Linked DNA regions of Homo sapiens: region 2 is linked to region 1. Evidence: promoter capture Hi-C in human tissues and cell types (Jung and others, 2019). All regions are on one chromosome and are shown on one strand. The core of a region is centred on a gene start or on the middle of the fragment in contact, and the rest is flanking DNA. Distances in the headings are between cores, read along the strand shown.

What was found. The method cuts DNA at HindIII sites, captures the fragments that hold promoters and counts their contacts. A contact is called where the count stands out against the background at its distance.
Region 2: a fragment that was not itself captured here is called in contact with the fragment with the promoter of RHPN2 in region 1 in 4 of the 25 tissues and cell types used here (H1 embryonic stem cells, pancreas, spleen and 1 more).

Annotation. Positions count from the first base shown.
Region 1 is chr19:33,062,008-33,066,157 of GRCh38, forward strand. RHPN2 (rhophilin Rho GTPase binding protein 2) reads right to left here and starts at 2,881. Exons shown (of 15, transcript NM_033103.5): 1 at 2,777-2,881. The coding sequence starts at 2,845. RefSeq lists enhancers at 1,575-2,203, 3,416-3,915 and silencers at 2,489-2,708, 2,769-3,268. The HindIII fragment of the contact is 19,604 bases long and covers 1-4,150 here.
Region 2 is chr19:33,109,788-33,113,937 of GRCh38, forward strand. GPATCH1 (G-patch domain containing 1) reads left to right here. Exons shown (of 20, transcript NM_018025.3): 11 at 1-229; 12 at 1,937-2,115; 13 at 2,699-2,826; 14 at 3,980-4,116. Among named protein-coding and RNA genes, the nearest start is that of WDR88, 20 kb to the right of the region's middle. The HindIII fragment of the contact is 5,908 bases long and covers 1-4,150 here.

The DNA.
Region 1 (4,150 bases), core at 1,631-4,130:
GGAAAGATTCAGCATCAACACCTTTTATTTTCCTAGGATAAATAGACTCTTCGAACTGGTATGACTTAACATGGAGTAGCACAACAATTGTTACAAGGTCTCATTTTCAAAATTGATGATTTTAATTGTAAAACAATGATTCCTCTTATTTTGCACCCCTGATTCTCTCATCCAACACCAGAGAAACTGCATCTAAAAAACACCCCACTTTAGGAGGCCGAGGTGGGTGGATCACCTGAGGTCAGGAGTTCAAGACCAGCCTGGCCAACATGGCAAAACCTTGCCTCTACTAAAAATACAAAAGTTAGCCAGGCGTGGTTGATATGCGCCTGTAGTCTCAGCTACTGGGAAGGCTGAGGCGGGAGAATCACTTGAAACTGGTAGATGGAGGTTGCAGTGAGCCGAGATCGCGCCACTGCACTCCAGCCTGGGTGACAGAGCGAGACTCCATCTCAGGGGGAAAAAAAAAAAAACACCTGTAGCCGGGCGCAGTGGCTTACACCTGTAATCCCAGCACTTTGGAAGGCCATGGCAGGTGGATCACTTAAGGTCAGGAGTTCAAGACTAGCCTGGGCAACACGGTGAAACCCCGTTTCTACTAAAAATACAAAAAATTAGCCAGGTGTGGTGGCAGGCGCCTGTAATCCCAGCTACTTCGGAGGCTGAGGCAGAACTGCTTGAACCCCGGAGGCAGAGGTTGCAGTGAGCCGAAATCACACCACTGCACTCCAGCCTGAGCGACAGAGTGAGACTCTGTTTCATAATAATAATAATAATAATAATAATAATAATAATAATTAATAAATGAAAAACACCCAACTGTGCACCTTTCCTAGCTCTCTTGCCATCCACTCTTTCCCAGTGCGGAGCAAGAAGTCCTCCCCTGGGCTCACAGACACGGAGGGCTCCCACAGGAAAATGTGTTCTGGGAGGCTTGGGACCACCCCTCACAGGTGTGCTTCTCTTGCTGCCATTTTCCCCCAGGTGCTGCTGGAGTTCCAGAGCTACACCTGCTCAGAGAACAATCTGGGGAGGAAATGTCCCAGAAAGAGGCAGCAACTTGCGGGAGGCCACACAGCAATTTTGTGGGAGTGGCAGTCAGGCCCCGGGGCCCGAGGACAGACATAGGAATTCCCAGGCCAGGCCTCCTCCTGCAATTCCATGGCCTGTGATCCTCTGTCCCAAACGCCACACATAATTAGAAGTTATAATCCTGTAATTCCATGATGACATCTTTAAACTTAAATATACCTCAAAACTACTTTTTTTTTTTTTAATGCTAAAAGCAACTTCACAAAAAAGAAGTTTTCCCACTCTGCCCCACACTGTCCTGCCCAGGGCTCCTCACCAGTGAGCAAAGCCCACAGTCTCTCTGTGTCACCTGGGAGAAGGAGGAAGATGCCAAGACCATTTAAGAACTGGATCCTAAGGCTTTGAACAATTAAGAATTGATTCGTTTATGGGAAAGTTTCACTTCCCTATTTATAATTATGCACTGTCGTATCTATTATAAAAACGAAAATCAACAACAATCTCTCCACCCTCTCAGTGATCCCTGGCCAAGGGCCAAAAGCTATTTTTAGACTTGCTCAGGACCTAGAGGGAGGAAGGCTTGGAAGGCATCACCATGACTCCCGGCTCCAAAGCATCTTTGTAGCCCAGGCCCTGCCGCCTGCGGGTATCCCAGGGCCCCTGCTCCACAGGCTGGGGTCGCTTTTGAGGGACTGAGCTCCCTGACTGTTATCTTCTGGGCCCAAGAGCTCCTGGACATGCCAAGAACCTGCGAGGCCGGCACCCGCCACCCGCCGCCCGCCGCCCGCCGCCCGCCGCCAGCCCCCGCCAAGTCTCCCGGACAACAAGACAAATCCGCTTTGGCACACAGTGAGACGCACAAGACCGTGGGCCTCACCTGCGGTGCTCACGCCCTCCTGGACGACCCGGAGCGGAGGAGGGTGCAACGCCGGAGGCTCCCTCCCACCAGCAGCTCTCCCCTGCTCCCTGAAAAGTCCCACAGGCGGACTTTGGAAGCATTTTGGAGGCAAAAAGAGACCGCCGGCCGGGCGCAGTGGCTCACGCCTGTAATCCCAGCACTTTGAGAGACCGGGGCGGGAGGATCCCTTGAGCCCAAGAGTTCGCGACCAGTCTGGGCAACACAGCGATACCCCAGTTCTACAAAAAATTAGCGTGGCGAGGTGGCGCGCCTGCAGTCCCAGTTACTCGGGAGGCTGGGGCGGGAGGATCGCTGGAGGCCAGGAAGTCGAGGCTGCAGTGAGCTATAATCGCGCCACTCTACTCCAGCCTGGGCGACAGAGCGCCTAAAATAAATATGAGACCGCCAACACGCCTGGGATGGTCTGTCTCCACCCGCGCTCCCACCAAGCGCTCTTGCAACGCGCCCAGAGGCCAAGGGCGCCAGCGCAGCCAGGAACGGGTCCTTTCCCCAGGCACCAGGGATCGCAAGCGAGGGGTGGCGGGGGGTGGGAGGGGGGAGACCCAAGCACCCCTCCAGGTCCTCCGCCCGCACCTGCGCGGAGCGGCCACATGCGCCTCCCCTACTCCCCGCCCAGTCCCGGATGCCACCTGCCCGGGACGCCGGGGACATCGCCGCCCCCACTCCTCCCCGCCAGCCTCCGTCCGGCCAGCGCCGGCCCAGTGCGCCCCCTCCCCCTCCCGGCCTAGTGGACCCCGACTGCGCGCTCCCACGGCCCCTGCAGGGCCCGGGGGAAAGGAGGTCTGGAGCCCGCAGGTCCCCGCCCGCCCGCCCGAAGCCGCCCACCTTCCGAAAGTAGCCGTCGTTCTCCTTCTCCAGCGGCTGGGGGGCCGCGGGCAACAGCGCGTCGGTCATGCTAGCGGCGCGGGCGCGGAGGGCGGACGGCGGACTGAGGCGCGGCGGCTGAGGCTGGCCCGAGAGGACGTGCGGCCCCGCCCCTGTCCCCGCCCTTCCCCGCCCCTCCACTCCCACCCCGTCCCGCGGCCCTTCTAGCCCCGCCTGAGGCCGAGCACTGGAGCCCTGGAGACGCGCCCCGCCCCGTCGCGGGCCCCGAACCCGCGCCCCTTGAGGCGCTCGTCACCCGGAGAGCTGCGCCCTGGGCGCGGCGCCTCGGGGTTGTCTGTGGGCGTCGTGGCTGACTCAACTTTGCGAGTGCCGCGAGAGCGCAGGAAAGGCACTGGGGTCTCAGGGGCCGCAGCGAAGCCCTGGCTGTGGACCTGCACCCTGCCCTGGAGCCCGGGGAGTCAGTGAGGAAGGCGTGGATCCAGGCGCGTCCCTCCTGGGTGAAGCCCGTGCGCCGCGGGGGAAGGGGCCAGACTCGACGCCACGTCGAGGGCGCGGCGGGAGCTCTGGGCCCTGGGCCCGGCGGTTTGGAAAAGCTTTTCCCAAGAGGGGAGCCCATGGCGGAGGGAGCGTTGACTGCCCCGCCGAGCGCCTTGCCCGGACTACTCGGGCTTGTTGGCATGGGATCAACTCAGCCGATTCCCTGTCCGCGCTGCAAAGACGAGTGGGATCCGCTGGGCTCGCGGACTGCCCTGAGAGAGGGGACCAGGAGGGGTTTTGCGCCCCAGACACGGCAGATGTCCTTGAGCACAGTTCTTTTTTTTAAGAGATGGGACCTCGCTCTGTCGCCCAGGCTGGAGAGCAGTGTTGCGATCTCGACTCTTTGCAGCCTCGACCTCCCAGGATCAAGCGATGCTCCAGCCTCAGCCTCCCAAGTAGCAGGGGCTGCAGGCGCGGGCCAACGCGCCCGGCCTTTTTATTTATTTTTTTTATTTTTTTATTTGAGACGGAGTCTCGCCCTGTCGCCCAGGCTGGAGTGCAATGGCGCGATCTCGGCTCACTGCAACTTCCGCCTCCCGGGTTCAAGCGATTCTCCTGCCTCAGCCTCCCGAGTAGCTGAGACTACAGGCGTCCACCACCACACCCAGCTAATCTTCAGTAGAGACAGTTTCACCTTGTTGGCTAGGCTTGTCTTGAACTCCTGACCTTGTGATCTGCCCACCTCGGCCTGCCTCCCAAAGTGCTGGGATTACAGCTTTTGTTTTGTTTTGTTTTGTTTTGTTTTTAAATAGATGCGGGGTCTCACCATGATATCAAGGCTGGCCTCGAACTCCCGACCTTAAGTGATCCTCACTCGTCTCGCTCTGTCGCCCAGGC
Region 2 (4,150 bases), core at 930-3,429, 47 kb after region 1:
ACTGACCTGAAAGCAGCTCAGCTCAAGGCCAGGAGTCTGGCCCAGAACGCTCAGAGCAGCAGAGCCCAGCTCTCCCCTGCAGCGGCTGCTGGGCACTGCTCTTGGAACATGGCATTAGGTGGTGGGACGGCCACCTTAAAAGCCAGCAACTTCAAGCCTTTCGCCAAAGATCCGGAAAAGCAAAAGCGATACGACGAGTTCTTAGTACACATGAAACAGGGTCAGAAAGGTGGGTGCTGGGCCTGGGTGTCCCAAATCTCGGCCCGGGCGGGGTCATATTCTCACTGTTCTCATCCTAGACCCATATTTACAGTTGAGGTATCCTGTTCTGTCAGTGTTTTTGCTTTATCCTGCTGCAAATAGTGCAAAGGTTTCAGGCCTTGGCTCTTGACCTCAGAAAGCAAGAACAGTTGGCTTATGTTCCTCCATATCTCAGGCCAAAGCTAGCTGTTTAAGTAGAGAACACAGCTGGCGGTGGCCGGTACTTACAGGCCGTTTGGTGTTTGCAAGTGCTTGACTGCTACAAGCATTGCATTCACATTTCATATCAGCATCATCTTCCACCTCATCCGAAGATCCTAACCATCCATTCCTGACTCATAGTCTAAAATATGACTTAAAACAATAGTTAGCTATTGAACCGTTACAGAGGGAAAACAATCACTTTGTGATCTGTGAAGTAAATAGGGCAAGAATGAGGCAAGAATGAGGAAAGGGGTTGCTGTTGTATGCAGTAGTCCTCGTGAGAGGTTATCAGTAAATTACAGGGTTGTTTTTTAAAAACAGATCTTTGCGGAATGTAAAGTCTATTTACTGTGCCTTAACTCTCTACTAAGAACCTACATCACTAATGTTTATTTGCTTTAAAAAAAAAAAACGGTTAGTGAAAGAGTGTTTTTCTGCCAAAACATAGGGATGTGGTTGAGGTGAACTTATCACTGCCTGGGAGTGGTGACAAGTTCCTTACTGCTGAAGATTTAACCAACCATTAGCCTCTCAAATGGTTTTCTCTGTTATGTTTGGTAGACAGAATTCAATAAAAGCATCATTTTGGCTGGGGATGGTGGCTCATGCCTGTAATCCAAGTACTTTGGGAGGCTGAGATGAGGATCGCTTTAGCCTAGGAGTTCAAGACCAGCCTGGGCAACATAGTGAGATCCTGCCTCTACCAAAAAAAAAAAGATATATATGTATATATAAAATATATTATATATATATATACACACATCATATTTTATTTATTTTTTTGAACGGAGTCTTGCTCTGTTGCCCAGGCTGGAGTGCAGTGTCAGGATCTTGGCTCACTGCAATCTCAGCTCACTGCAACCTCCACCTCCCAGGTTCAAGTGATTATCCTGCCTCAGCCTTCTGAGCAGCTGGGACTATAGGTATGTGCCACCACGCCTGGTAATTTTTTGTTTCCCGTCTCTACTAAAAATACAAAAAATTAGCCGGGCATGGTGGCGGACGCCTGTAGTCCCAGCTACTCGGGAGACTGAGGCAGGAGAATGGTGTGAACGTGGGAGGCGGAGCTTGCAGTAAGCAGAGATCATGCCACTGCACTCCAGCCTGGGAGACAGAGTGAGACTCCATCTCAGAAAAAAAAAAAAAAAAAAAAAGAGAGATGGGGTTTCACCATGTTTGCCAGGCTGGTCCCGAACTCCTGACCTCAAGTGACCCACCCGCCTCGGCCTCCCAAAGTGCTGGGATTACAGGCATGAACAACTGCGCCTGGCCTAAATTTTTTTTAAAAAAGCACAATTTTGAAGGAAACAGCAATATTACCTGCCAAATACCTCACCATTCCCATAGTCATAAAAACAAGGATAAGGACTTATGAAATATACAGGGATACAGTGGTGCCCAGCAGATGTTCTCTTGTAAGCCCCATGTTTTCCTGAAAAGTGAAGCTGCTTCTTGTTCTCTGCCCCCGCAGATGCTCTGGAACGCTGTCTGGACCCCAGCATGACAGAGTGGGAGCGAGGCCGTGAGCGGGATGAGTTTGCCCGGGCGGCCCTGCTGTACGCATCTTCCCATTCGACCTTGTCCTCCAGGTTCACTCACGCCAAGGAGGAGGATGACTCAGATCAGGTTGAAGTCCCTCGAGACCAAGAGGTCTGTTGTCACCATGTCCCTTACCTGGTGAACTTTAATATTAAAGCACTGCCTAGCCAAAATAGTTTTTTCCTTTTTTTTGAGACGGAGTCTCTCTCTGTCGCCCAGGCTAGAGTGCAGTGGTGTGATCTCGGCTCACTGCAGCCTCCGCTTCCTGGGTTCAAGCGATTCTCCTGCCTCAGCCTTCCAAGTAGCTGGGATTACAGGCGCTCGCCACAACAGCCATCTAATTTTTGTATTTTTAGTAGAGATGGGGTTTCACCATATTGGCCAGGCTGGTCTTGAACTCCTGACCTCAGGTGATCCACCCGCCTCGGCCTCTCAAAGTACTAGGATTACAGGCATGAGCCACCATGCCCGGCCGAGCCAAATATTTTTAATCCCTTGGTGAGAAGATCAAAATATACATGTATAGGAGAATAGGAAACCATTTTATGCCTTAGTTTCCAATGTACTGGAGCATAAATGTTATAGCACAAACTTTTTTCACAGTTCTAGAAGATTGCTTGAAAATTTTAAATGGGAGAGCAGTCAGGTCAGTGGTGCGGCCACTTGATGGAACAGAATGCATGTCTTTTTCCAGAATGATGTCGGGGATAAGCAGTCGGCTGTGAAGATGAAGATGTTTGGGAAGCTCACCCGAGACACGTTTGAGTGGCACCCTGACAAGCTTCTATGTAAGAGATTTAATGTCCCTGACCCTTATCCAGAGTAAGTTGGATAAACCTTTACATCAGTACAAAATGTATTCTTGATATTAAAGCTAATTTTCCCCTTACATACTCATATAAATTCTTATTTTTTCTACATGAACTTATTTGCATATCACTGGATATACAAATCTACACATTTTATAGATTTGCTTTGATAAATTACTTCTATAATTTGTTACTAAAACAAAATCTGGATAGCAAACTTTATTCCATATTGAAGCTATGAAACTCAGATATGTCAAGTTACAAAAGCATTATGCCTCTCTCATTTGCCACCTTCTTGTTGCTGCTCATGTGGTTTACATTTATAATGTTACTTATGTTTTTAAATTATCATTATAAAAGTTAAACACTTTCTTATTTGATTAATAACACTTCAAGAGGTGGGGTGTGGTGGTGCACACTTGTAATCCTAGCTTGGGAGGCCAAGGCAGGAGGATCGCTTGAGCCCAGGAGTTCGAGGCCAGCCCGGGTAACATAGTAAGACCCCATCTCTAAAAAATCAAACAAACAAACAAACAAACAGAACACTTCAAGATAGTAGGCCGGGTGCAATGGCTCACGCCTGTAATCCCTGTATTTTGGGAGACTGAGGCAGGCAGATCACTTGAGGTCAGGAGTTCAAGACCAGCCTGACCAACATGGTGAAACCCCGTCTCTACTAAAAATACAAAAAATTAGCTGGGCGTGGTGGTGCGTGCCTATAGTCCCAGCTATTTGGGAGGCTGATGCAGGAGAATTGCTTGAACCTGGGAGGCGGAGGTTGCAGTGAGCCAAGATTGTGCCATTGCACTCTAGCCTGGGTGACAAGGCGAGACTCAATCTCAAGAGAAAAAAAAACAAAACAAAAAGATAGCATATGTGGTCAAACCAGAGACTGTCAGAAACTTTAGGTATATTTTTATCAGTGGAGCTTTTCCTTAATGGAAATCCATTTTGAAAGTTAAATTCTTGTCCTTATCATAATAAGGAAAATCTCATGGGACCTAAAATCAGTCACCCAGATTCTCGAACTGCTTTGAGAAGTGAAAGCATCTTAGGAGACTTTTTAGTCATGCAGAAGAGGTGGAAAACTTGAGATGGAAAGCTTTTCAGGAGGTGGATTTTGTCCTACTGGTTGTTACTAAAATGATTCTTTTTTCAATTCCCAGTTCAACTTTAGTTGGCTTACCAAGAGTGAAGCGTGACAAGTACTCAGTCTTCAACTTTCTGACGCTCCCAGAGACAGCTTCCTTGCCCACCACTCAAGCATCAAGTGAAAAAGTATCACAGCACCGAGGTCCCGACAGTGAGTAGGGCGTCCCCGGGGTCTCTGATTGACC